Linked DNA regions of Homo sapiens: regions 1 and 2 are each linked to region 3. Evidence: promoter capture Hi-C in 16 types of primary human blood cells and fetal thymus (Javierre and others, 2016). All regions are on one chromosome and are shown on one strand. The core of a region is centred on a gene start or on the middle of the fragment in contact, and the rest is flanking DNA. Distances in the headings are between cores, read along the strand shown.

Region 1 (4,107 bases), core at 719-3,218, 1.2 Mb after region 3:
GGTCTCACTCTGTCATCCAGTCAGGAGTGCAGTGCAGCAGTCTCAGCCCATTGCAGCCTCAACCTCCCGGCTCAAGCGATCCTCCGTCCTCAGCCTCCCAAGTAGCTGGGACTACAGGCACACACCACCACACCTAGCTATTTCTTTTCCTTTTTTCTTTTTCTTTCTTTCTTTCTTTTTTTTTTTTTTTTAAGTTTTTTACTTTTAATAGAGGTGGGGCCTTGCTATTTTGCCCAGGCTGGTCTCAAACTCCTGAGCTCAAGACCCTACTGCCTTAGCCTCCCAAAGTGCTGGAATTATAGGCGTGAGCTGCTGCGCCCAGCCTATAGACTATGATTTTTGCATTTTTATTTATTAGATTGCTTTTTAATTTTCGTGTTTTGTGTTTTTGTGCCTTGTCAGACTTGTGGAACAAAAATCCAAAACTTAACCACCTTTTGGAATGCCCCAGAATAGTTTATACTGAAACAGATCTTGGTTTGTAAAAGAACACTATAAAAACATTTTGGGGGCAACTAGGGAGATTTAAATATGAACGAGATATTTGATGCTTTTCTGAATTATTTTGTGTGCTATAGTGTTGTGCTTGTGACAATTCTTTACTCTTAGAAAATGAGGAAGTATTAGGGATGAACCATCAGAATGTTTGACTTGAAAATCGTCAGCAAAAAGAAAACACATAAGATAAAGCAAATATGGCAAAATGTTAATTATTAAATCTAGGAGGAGGACACAGCTGTTCATGGTACTAGATTAAAACTTTGTAGAAGTTTAAAATTTTAAGCTTTCATAAAAAAAAATTGGGGGGAAATACATAGCAGTTATGGTCTTTCTGCAGCTTAAGAGACTATCTGGACTTGGCTTTGTAGCAGGAAGATCTTTAAAAACCTTTTCATTTCTGCTATGCTTATTAACCTATGAGGTTTCAGGGTCAACCTGTGGTCACTTACAACCTGTTAAAAAAATTCATCTAGATTTCCAAATTTATTGGACTAACATTGTAACTAATAGTGGTCCTAAACCTGGCTGGAAATGTTATTTGAAGTGCTTGTTCAAAATGCAAATTATTTCATTTTTTTAGAAGTGGATTCTTACAGTGTTGCCCAGGCTGGTCTCAAACTCCTAGGCTCAAGTGATCCTCCCACTTTGGCTTCAAAAAGTGCTGGCCTTATAGGCATGAGCCATGGCATCCAGGTGGAGATGCCCAGTAGGCAACCGGACCAAAGCCTCAAGCTCAGAAGATGTCTGGGCTGGAAATTGACTTGGGAGTCACCAGCAGTTTTAACTAAGAGGAAGCTCTGAATTTGGATGAGAACACACAAGCGGAGTATGAAAGGCACACGCAAAAGAAGAAGGGCCTGTGGAGCCTGGGAAGGAGCCATTAGAGGAGAAGGACCAGGCCGGGCGCCACTGCCTGGTGGAGGAACAGCTGTGTCCTCCTCCTAGATTTAATAATTAACATAATCCCAGCACTTCAGGAGGTGGAGGCAGGTGGATCAAGAGGTCAGGAGCTCGAGACCAGCCTGACCAGCATGGTGAAACCCCGTCTCTACTAAAAATGCAAAAATTAGCTGGGCGTGGTGGCACACACCTGTAATCCCAGCTACTCAGGAGGCTGAGACAGCAGAATCACTTGAACCTGGGAGGCGAATGTTGCGGTGAGCCGAGATTGTGCCACTGCACACCAGCCTGGGTGACAGAGCCAGACTCCATTAAAAAAAAAAAGAGAGAGAGAGAAGCAGGACCAGGAGAAGGCCATCAAGACCAAAAGCCTATGGGTACTGTGTCCCTCTGTCACATGCAGGGAAACTGCTGACTTGGGCACTAGGGGTGTTCCTAGAAAAGGAAAAGCTAAATGAAAGTGCGCTTTTTAAACCTTTCTTTAGAACTTTCTGGGCACAATGGAAAAGCTAGTCACTGGGTTCTGGTTCTGGCTCTGACACTGATTAGATGTTAATACCTAGGGCAAATCACCTCACCCTCAGGACCTTTTCCTCACCTGTATGTGAAAGGATTTAGAGGCAAAGGAAGAAGAATCTGGCTGAAGGGTGAAGTTTGTGCAGCCCTCCCCACCACCACTCCCCTCACTGTCCCTTCTCTGCAGCAGCTCTGCCTTCGTTTCCATGTTCCTGTTCATCTGACGTATGAAAATAGGCCAAAAAACAAAACTACCAGGCCAAATGGATCTTGAAAGCCCAGCTAAAAATCTGGTGTGCCTTTTCAGTCTCTATTCTCATTTCTACCCATGTCTCACAGGCTTAATGACCATTTCCAGGCTGTTACTAGTCAGATTTTTATTTTTACTCCAGAGGACCTATTTCAACATCTCCGGCTGCCGCCATCTCTATTTACATGTCTCAACATCAGTTCCAACTCAACTATGTGAAACTAAATGTATCACCTCCAAAAGAGCTTCTCCACCCAGCACTTACAGGCACCACAATTTATGCCCAGTTTTCTAATTCTCCCTGCTTTCCAGCCCTCCAAGAAAACCTAAGTCACTTCAGTGACTTTCGAGTCTTTCATTCCCCACCTCTGGTAAGGGACAGGGCTCTTCTTACTCTCAGGAAATGTCCCTGATTCCTCCTTTCAGTTCCCACCACCACCGTCCACAGGTAGGCCTTCCTCACCTTGGGGAGACTGCTACAGGCACTTCCTAACTGGTCTCTCCTTTCCATCAGCATTCCTCCAGCTGCCGCTTCATAGTATGAGGTGAGTCTAGGGGAACGTGAGCTCAGTTTTTGGGGGAGAGGTGGATATGTGTTCCAGGAAAACTCTCCGTGTTTTTCCTCTGCTCTTACATCACCACCACAACAATCATCATCACAGAAGAATTCTGGGACCAAATGTGAGGGGGTTCCTCCCTACCACCAAGCAGCGGACACCAGCTGGGTATCCTCCTATTCAATTCCAACACTGTCTACCTGAGGAAGACACACCGGCACCAGTCATATGTCTTGGACTCCAGAACTTCTGACCAACCACTTTCAAGTTGGGGTTGCCATGATCCCATCTTTGGGTTTGAATAACTTGCTGGAGCAGCTCACAGAACTCATGGAAACATGTTTCCTGGTTTATTATAAAGGATGTTGCAAAGGCTACAAGGAAGAGATGTGTAGGGCAAAGTATGGGAGGAGGGGCACAAAGCTTCCATGCCCTCCAGAACCTCCACGAACGTGGTCAGCTATCTAGAAGCTCTCCAAACCCAGTTCTATTGGCCTTTATGGGAACTTTATGTTATCAGCATTCCTTCCTCCAAGGGATGGGGCAGGAGCTCTCAGGAGGTATTTAAGACCCACAATCAGCAAGATTAGAGTTCTGCCTTGGGGCAGGTGAAAGGAGAGCAGGAGAGGCCAGAGAGATTCTGTTTCCTGAGGCCTGCCCCTGAGGCCTAACACAACTGGCATTATAACAAAAGACTTAACAAGGCTATGGGAGTCAGGGACCGTGCTTGAAAATGTGTGTATGTATGTGTGTGTATACCTCGTAACACCACAATACGCAAGTGACTTACAGCAGTCAGAAATTAGGGGCTGAAAATCAGAATTGCAGTCATTTGCAAAGAATAAGAGAAGAAATCTATGAGTAGATGCAATCGGAGAAGGAAAGAGTATACTACAGAAAGCAAAGGATCAAACTTGGGAATTATCATATTGGGTTAGAACTGTGTACAGGGAGGAGTCAAAGAGTGTGTATGCATCTAAATATACACATAAATGCATAGATACACAGAATTTTTAAATTTCTGATGCAGTTCTCTGCAAATCAGGAGACCTGAGTTCAAAACTTTGCTGACACACCATGTAACTTTGGACAAGTTACTTAACGTTGGGAGACCAATTTAATATACCCACGTGGGTTAGACAGGTAACTGAGTAAAGCTGGCAACCTGAAGAGAAAAGCAAACACTGAGAAGGCCACTAGCTCTCGCCTGCTGTTTCCAGGACAGCAAACAGCAAAGAGGTGGCACAGTATAGCAGTTATAACCATGAACTCTTTTGTGTGGATGTTAAGTTTTCATTTCCCTAGGGTAAATACCTAGGAGAGGGATTGCCGGGTTGTATAGTAAACATATGTTTATTTACAAGAAATGGCCAAACTGTTGTC
Region 2 (4,244 bases), core at 1,677-4,176, 1.6 Mb after region 3:
TATAATATGGCTAAATCTAGTTGGTATCTCCTTGTTTCTTGCCTTGTTACCTACAAACCCCTTCTCCCGCATTAGAAAGCAATGAACTTGGTAGAAAAATTTCTTTGTATCATTTCTAAATAACAGTTTAAAGCTAGTGCTGATTTAGATCATAAACTCAGATTACTAATTGTAGAAAGGACCTTGGTGTCTAGGTATGCTTATTTGTAGTAAATTCCTGATTAAAAAATGAAAAGAAAGTCACAAAAGTAATTGGACAGAACAAGGTTAGGAAGTAAAACTCTCTCATCCAATTTTGAGGCACAGTGATCATAACTCTACTATTTTCACAAATGAAACCAAGAGAATTTCACAAATGAAGAAAATTTCAGAAACCAAGAGAATAAAAATTACATCTCAGAAAGAATTTTGGTTGAAAGAGGGAAGGAAATAAAAGTCTACTCATCTACTTATGTGGCCAATGGCGCACAATGCCAACAGCTGGTTGGAGTTTGCAATACACCACCCAGGGTACTCTTGTATCAGTTAAAGGTCCTGCTCCCTCAAAACCCTTGACTTTCGTTTGAAGTGAAATGGTGATGATATTCTAATTTTACTAGAACAAGATACGTTGCTGCCACCTTCCAGAAAACTGTCAGTAAATCCACAAATCCACAAAAAAGAGGATGAGTCTTGGCTTTCCCAGTTCAAGATTCAGTCTAGAAAATAAACAGAAACTTCTCAGTTAAATCTGAACACTCCTTTACCAAACATACCTCTGAGAGATTCTGAACAAACTATTAGGAGAAGACAAGACTATTTATGTAGAAGAAGGCTATATATGTAAGACTATATATGTAGAAGGCTATATATGTAAACATTGCTTTAAATCCCTGTATCATTACTTTAGTAGCGGTGTGACCTTGGTCAAGCCACTTTAGCCTTCTAAATGTCTTTATCTGAAAAGAATGGATCATATCACATCAAAATGTGTTGTGAAGATTAAATGATGAAATGCTTGTAGAGCACTAAGTATGGTGGTAGGTATGATCTAAAAGCTCAACAAATGAGGGCTATTAATATTGGTTCCTGAAGACAGTGGTCACATAACTATGACCTCACTTGGAAAGCTGAGTCATAGCTGGGTCAAGAGACTGATGTTTCAGGAGTAACACATTAGTAATGTAACCAGGCAAGTAGTGTACCAGGCAAGGGCATACAAGGAGTAGAAGCCCTAATCCTCTTTCCTCTATTCTTCAGAATATAGCTAAAGAAAAGGAGGAAATAATACTAACATATTTCATGGGAACCAGCAAGTCAAAAGAATGAAAATAAATGCAAAACTTGAGTATGGATATGTGAGAAAGAAACAAATGGTAGTGTTAAATGTTAGGAAACATATTTGCCTATCAGAGGGAAAAAGATGCAAAACAAGCTACAAAACTGTTAGCTTTGGGGTAAAAGTATGCTATCAGTTTGGGGCTGAGATTCAGGTGTTTATGCATCATACAACTTTCATAAAAGTCATTTAATCTCATTTGTAATAAAAAATGCAGCATAAAAGTCTCAAAAAGGATATTTAATAAGTATGAGGTAAGCACAGGAGACTAAAAAGATTACAATGCAATTCACAAGTATAGGGCAGAAGAGTTAAAACCAACAAAACTACAAACTCAACATCCAAAATGTTAGTACACAATTGCAAATCAAATATTAAATTTTAAGTTCGGCTGAAGAGTATGTGTAATTCACATCTCTTAGTATACTGTATATGAAAAGCAAGAGTGAGTTTACTTTAGGTTTCTCAGTAGGTACTTAGAGTGATCTAGAATAATGATAAAGTGAACTCCCAATTTAGTGAAGAGGACATACATTTAATGTTGTGCCCTGCATCTTTATTCCACACCATTTCCACTAACAACTCTGCAAACATCCTTTCTCCACTCCACACTAAGAAAATGAAGCGAGCAGACTATTTTCGTCATTCTTGTTTGACAAAACATATGGAAACAATAATTCTACAGACATATGTACATCATAATAGGAAGCAATCCTATTTTAATGTAATTTTAAAAGAGGTTTTAAAAGGACTCAAGCTACTAAAATTACTCATCTGAAGCTTGCAAATAAGAATGCCACGTCCCTAATTTATTTAGCAGATTCATATAGTTGGGCTAGAACTTTAGGTATGACTTCTCTTATAATTCGGAGGTGAATTCTCATTCACAAGAAGTAGGATTTGTACAAGTAAATCTACCCCATACTAGAGGATAATATTCTTAATTCAATCACATTTGGCTAATTTCTTTTTTCTTCACGTGGTTATTTTTGGCTTTATTTTGTTTGCCGGTAGAAGAGAACAAACATTAAAACTGGCTCTAAAGTTCTAATTTTATACATTGTCTTGAAAGTACAGCACAAAACATTTAATTTCTTTAAAAATTTTTTCCCTGCCAAAAAATGATAGTTTTAACTGCTTTCGTTAAAACACAGGCATGCAGAAATGGGGAAAGAGGAAGTTCTTTCAGGAAAAACACTGAAAAAAATAAGATTTCATCTGGCCTTTCCATCATCACTTGAAGAATTGTTTGGTAGTTACATCATCAGGAAATAAAACACCATCCTCTGAGGACCCCTACTCATTACAAAGAGGAAAGAGAAGGTTTGAAGTCTAAATCACCCCCAGAGATGTCTCCACAAAACCCCAGACTTCTCCTTTCCCTCTCCCGCCTACCCCCAGCAACCAAAAATAAAAAGTATAATGAATTTACAAAAGTTTACATAAGAATAACAGGATGTGTATTGAAGTCCCTGAAGCAACAACAGCTTTAGGGACCCAGAGGGAAAAAAGTTACAAGCGGATCGACCCTGCCTCCCAATGACTTTGTTAGCCCGACAGGAGGGCGCCGGCGCCCCGGCCCACCGGCCCACCACTCATTCCCTCCGCTGGGAGCCGGGAACCACGGTCCGTTCACACGGCCGGAACATCCGCGGGAGCTGGGGTGTGTGGCTGCGCCGCCGCCGCGGCCGAGGGTCCCGCGGTCACCGGCGCCCCCGCCGACAGCGCCGCACACGCGGAGCGCCTTATAAGGCAGAACAGTGACGTAACGCCCATAGGCCGGGCGCGCTCAGCGCCCCGCTCGCATTGTTCGGGCGACTCTCGGAGCGCGCACAGTCGGCTCGCAGCGCGGCACTACAGCGGCCCCGGCCCGGCCCCCGCCCGGCCCCGGCGCAGGCAGTTCAGGTAAGCCCGGGAGAGCAACTTCGCTCCACCAAGGGGCACTGCTGTCAGACAGCCAGGTAGCAAGTCTGTGGGTGGCTGTTAAAGCTGTCTCAGCATCACAAACTGCAGACAGGTTTCGCAAAGCGCATCCAATGAATTCTAGGTTCAAAACCGTTTCCAACTCACACAAAACTTGAAAGTAGAAGTTTTCTCTGGAGGAGAAAACAGATTAGAGATTTAATTTTAAATGTTGAGAGGTGGGAGGTGACTGTATTACATACGCTTTCCAAGTGAGCTACACATTGAATCCTGCCCATATTGAGAAATCTTTGGGGAAAGGGTGGGGGAGACTATATTGTACTGCAGCAACCCTATCTCTCCTCCGGACTCAAACTCGCTTGTCTTACATGAGCAGAATGCGAAAATTTGTTAGTGCCAGGTTTTCCCCTCTTTTTGTAAATGTTAATATAAACGACTAGAAAAACACTGTTAGGAATACATCTTGGAATTAAGACGAATCTAACTTAAAAAGTAAAATCTTTTTAAGCTTCAAAAAATCGTACAAACGCTATTTTGTCGTAAAAGCATATGTCAATTTGTACAAGGAAGTAACTATCATAGTTTTGAGTTCTAACTTTCTGCTTCAAGTCCAGGCATTGGAAAAATGACAAACCTCACTTACAGCTATCATTTCTAGAGTAATATTTTGGATAGTAGTATATTATGTAAAAAATGCCAATTTAAAAGGTAAAACTTATAGAGTAACTGTATTAATCAGTAACATTTTAAACCATAATTAGTTACATCTAAATCCTGAAGAGGCTATTGCTACCAATGAACTCTTACAGTATGATAACTGAACACTTGGCAGAAAAATCTCCATAATATTTTACTTCATTTTTTCCAACTAAAAGTCAACGTAGGAATTAAAAATAAAAAGGTTATGTCAACTTTAGAACACTGGAATAGGAGATGAAAAATTGATTCATCATTCAATCCTTATCTGGTCTAAACATATATTGTAAAATAAAACTTTAACAAC
Region 3 (4,303 bases), core at 1,007-3,506:
CCAGAGGCAAGGACACATAGAAAAAAGAATATTAGAGATAGGAAAAAGAAAAAAGCAGATGTCACTAAGTGTTGGTTTTACCAAATTGGAGTATGCAACAGAATCGTCTGGGAAGTTTATTTTTTATGTTTTTTGGAGACAGGGTATCTGTGTGTCGCCCAGGCCGCAGTACCGTGTAGCGATCATAGCTCACTGCAGCCTCAAAGTCCTGGACTCAAGTAATCCTTAAATCTCATCTTCCCCAGTAGCCGGGGACTATAGGTGTGCTCCACCGTGCCCGGGTCATTTTTTTTTTTTTTTCCGAGACAGTCTGGCTCTGTCGCCCAGGCTGGAATGCAGTGGCCTGATCAAGGCTCACTGCAACTTTTAACTCCATGGGCTTAAGTGATCTTCCTGCCTTAGCCTCTTGAGTACCTGGGACTACAGGCATGCGCCACCACGTGTGGCTAGTTTTTTTCTTTGTAGAGAGGAGGTCTCACTATATTGCCCAGGCTGGTATCAAACTCCTGGGCTCAAGGGTGAGTCATAGCATCTGGCCTGTATATTTTTGTGGAGAGGGGGGTCTTGCTTTGTTGCCCAGGATGGTCTGGAATGTCTTGGCTCAATCTATTCTGCCTCGGCCTCCCAAAGTGCTGGGATTACAGACGCGAGCCACTGTGTCCGGCCCAGCTTGACTTTAGAATCAGTTAAGTTCTTTAGTTAAAAAAGTTAATTTGGGCCAGGCGCAGTGGCTCACGCCTGTAATCCCAGCACTCTGGGAGGCTGAGGCGGGCGGATCACGAGGTCAGGAGATCGAGACCATGCTGGCTAACATGGTGAAACCCCATCTCTACTAAAAAATACAAAAAATTAGCCGGGCGTGGTGGCGGGCGCCTGTAGTCTCAGCTACTCGGGAGGCTGAGGCAGGAGAATGGCGTGAACCCAGGAGGTGAAGCTTGCAGCGAGCCGAGATTGTGCCACTGCACTCCAGCCTGGGCGACAGAGCGAGACTCCGTCTCAAAAAAAAAAAAAAGTTAATTTGTGAGGAAACTGAAAATTCAATTATTTTTCAGAAAGCAATGTTTTTGTTAAACAGAAATTAACCAAATAAAACGAAATCCTTACAGTAAACTTCAATCCCAGCAAGACTTAAAGTATTTCTGCTTTGCAGTCATTCCTGCCATGTAGAACACTTCCCCAGGCCCAACACCCCACAACACCTGGGGCCTTACCTCTACCTGGGGACTGACCACATTATAATTAAGAAGGCTTAACTCACGATGAAGGGGACTGCTCTAGTGGACGAGTTGGGCCGATCCCTTTATTGACTCCGTTAGGATGGGAGATGGGGGTTGGAGGGATAGGCGTTAGGGGTATAAAGGGGCCAGCTTGGGAATCAAACCCTACTTCCAGAGTCCCTTCGGGCTTTGAACATGCCAGAAACATTTTCCCTGCTTAGAGCACTGTGCTGAATTTTGTTAAACTTGTGATTAAATCGTCATGAAAGCTTACACGTGCATTTAAAAATTATTCAGATATGCACCATTAGGGATAATCAGGCTAATAGTACCAGACCTTGAGTTCATTGAGGACTGGATTAGTCCCTTAAGTATCGTGGTAAATGTTAATTGAACAAATTCCAAGTTTATAGCCACCCACTTTCTGTCATATCAGCATTTCAGTTATTGAAAAATTAAGTTCTAGCTTTTCTTTTAAGGAACTTTAAAAATCACAAGTTCGAATTTTAAAAAGGAATCCTAAGACATTTTTCCTCGTCTGCTGACATATTTCCACAGCAAATGCTAAACTAATAGCTAGGCTATTATTAGGTGATTTTGCCATCTTAAAATCTTTTGGTTTCTGAGTTCGAGGAAAGGCGTTGGGGGCAAATATGTAAGAGAGGCTGTGAGGGATGTAATACTGCAAACGCTAACGTTTTGTTTTCATAGTTGTTTGGCCACCTCGCGAGATCCAGTGAACCGGAGGAGTTCCTGTTTTTCCCTTTTAATTTTTGTCAATCTAATCTTCAAAGTCAACAAAGCTAAAATCGAGCACCCAGGTGGTTCACCTCCCCAGAGGGGCTCAGATCATGAAATAAACGCCACCAAAAAAACGCTGGAAGAGGCAGCCCACAGTGAAAAGTCCCAGGAAGTGATTTCCGGTCGAAGGTGGGAGGGGCGGCTGATTTCCGGTCGAAGGGCAGGCGACGGCTCTTGCGCAAGCGCGCTTCGCACTTTGCGGGCTTTTTTTTTTTTTTTTTTTTTTTTTTTTTTTTCCTTTCCCCTCCCCCTCCCTCTCCAAGCCGGAGGGGTCCTGAGGTGACAGCGCCTGCAACTGAAATTTCAGCAGCGGGAGAAGATGGACAAGAGAAAGCTCGGGCGACGGCCATCTTCATCCGGTGAGAAAGGGTCAGAGAAGGGCTGAACATATTGTCTCCTACCCGGGGGAAACGGGAGGCGCAGGCGGCAGCTGGGGTTGCGGCCCGAAGCCGCGGGGGCGAGGGCGGGGGCGGGGAGAGGAAGGGGCGCGCACAATGGAAGGCTCCCGGGTCGCCCCCGCCCCTGGAGTCGAAGACCCGGTCCGAGCTGTCATCGAAGCCTCGGGCGCTCTTCACCTCAAAACCCCTTTTATTTTTTCCCTCCTCCCGCGAACACCCTCCTTGCGTCTCATCGGCCCATGGATCTTCCCGGTTGGCTTGTCACTCTCTGCCACGCCTTCCTCGTAATTCCACCAATGTTCCAATTTCATTTCGGCTTCTCAGCGCCTGACCCCACTTTCCTCTCTTCCTTTGATTCTCGACTTTGCGTCCCTTCCCCTCTCCCTCCTCTTTCCCTCAGCAGGTAGCTGCTGCTGGGGAGGAAAGGTGGGGCTTGCGACCGGAGACTCCTTTTCTTTGATACAATGCCTCTCCGGGTCTCGTTCTGCTGAACAGGCCCGCCTAATAGCCTTTTTCTTTTCCAGCCTACCCTGCGTCTTCCAAAAGTGATTGGAAAGTCAAACAAAGGATTTGAAGCCGTGCTTTCGTTGTGTTTTTATTTTCAGCATATTTTTTGTTTTGGACGTTACTTTGTTTTAAATGACTATCTTCAGTTTTGTGTACAACGTCTTGGAAACAAGAAAGTGGAGTTATAAAAACGTGAGGTAGAGCTCCTCCCAGTTGAGAAGTTTTTATCAAACATTTCATCCATTAGGGGGTCCTCAAGTCCTTGTGTTAAGTCCTATGGATGGTAGGAGGAGAGGACGAGGACTCATATGCTTACAGTCCAGTACACAAACGAACGCCCAATGAATCAATTATTTCATTTCATTTTTCTGTTTCTGATGGTACCGTTGGTTTCTGCAGAGACAGTTAACAATTACAGATTTATTGGCCGGGCGCGGTGGCTCACGCCTGTAATGCCAACACCTTGGGAGGCCGAGGCGGTCGGATCACAAAGTCAGGAGATCGAGACCATCCTGGCTAACATTGTGAAACCCCGTCTCTACTAAAAAATGCAAAAAATTAGCCGGGCGTGGTGGCGGGCGCCTGTAGTCCCAGCTACTCAGGAGGCTGAGGCAGGAGAATGGCGTGAACCCGGGAGGCGGAGCTTGCAGTGAGCCGAGATCGCACCACTGCACTCCAGCCTGGGCAACAGAGCGAGACTCTGTATCAAACAACAACAACAACAAAAAAAAAACAAAAAAAACCAATTCCAAATTTATTTAGGAGTGCCCTGTGGCAGTGCATCTCAAACTGCTTTCAGCCTTAATTGCAAAGGAGAGTGATTATGGATCTCTGGGGACACTGCTTGAAGCAGTTGAAAACCTGAAATCCCTTTTCATATGCAACCAATGTTATCGATGTTCTTGGTGTATATTCTGGAGATAATAGTTTTTTCCTTTGAAAGCACATGTATAAATGATATATATGTATATTTATACATACATGTAGGTATATGCCTCCAACTGATGAGTGTTTTAATAGTCTCCACCCCCCACCAAACCTCTAAGTAAAATGGACACATTAGGAAAACGCACAATGCTTAGCTGGTGTCATTTGCGGGCTTCCTAACACAGAACTTTAGGTGTGATCATATCTTCCTTTGAGATGCACAACCTTTTTTAAATAAATGCATTTCATCTAGGTTTAATACATTTTTGAGGAGGGAAGGTAAGATATTTGCCTTGTAATTCAACAAGTCACGTTCCTTTTTACCTGATTACACTTAGATTTATTTATTTGTCACAGTAACTTGATGTAAGTAGTTGTGGGAAGTGGATTTTGATAATAAAGCTGTTAATCCTTAAAAGACATTGATATTTACGTTAGTTATATCTCTAGAGA

The links. Contacts are between HindIII fragments. The CHiCAGO score rates a contact against its expected background, and 5 or more counts as called.
Region 1: a fragment that was not itself captured here is called in contact with the fragment with the promoter of SENP7 in region 3 in 1 of 17 cell types (naive CD8 T cells); the score reaches 5.2 in naive CD8 T cells.
Region 2: a fragment that was not itself captured here is called in contact with the fragment with the promoter of SENP7 in region 3 in 1 of 17 cell types (fetal thymus); the score reaches 5.2 in fetal thymus.

The regions. Positions count from the first base shown.
Region 1 is chr3:100,330,065-100,334,171 of GRCh38, reverse strand. No RefSeq gene overlaps it. Among named protein-coding and RNA genes, the nearest start is that of NIT2, 2.6 kb to the left of the region's middle. The HindIII fragment of the contact is 2,363 bases long and covers 787-3,149 here.
Region 2 is chr3:99,875,051-99,879,294 of GRCh38, reverse strand. The region is part of intron 1 of CMSS1 (cms1 ribosomal small subunit homolog); the gene reads right to left. All of the region lies in intron 4 of FILIP1L (filamin A interacting protein 1 like), which reads left to right. The region is part of intron 1 of LOC105374010 (a long non-coding RNA gene); the gene reads right to left. Among named protein-coding and RNA genes, the nearest start is that of HP09053, 53 kb to the right of the region's middle. RefSeq lists an enhancer at 956-1,250 and a silencer at 2,816-3,285. The HindIII fragment of the contact is 1,651 bases long and covers 2,101-3,751 here.
Region 3 is chr3:101,511,165-101,515,467 of GRCh38, reverse strand. SENP7 (SUMO specific peptidase 7) reads left to right here and starts at 2,256. Exons shown (of 24, transcript NM_020654.5): 1 at 2,256-2,377. The coding sequence starts at 2,338. The HindIII fragment of the contact is 4,750 bases long and covers 1,489-4,303 here.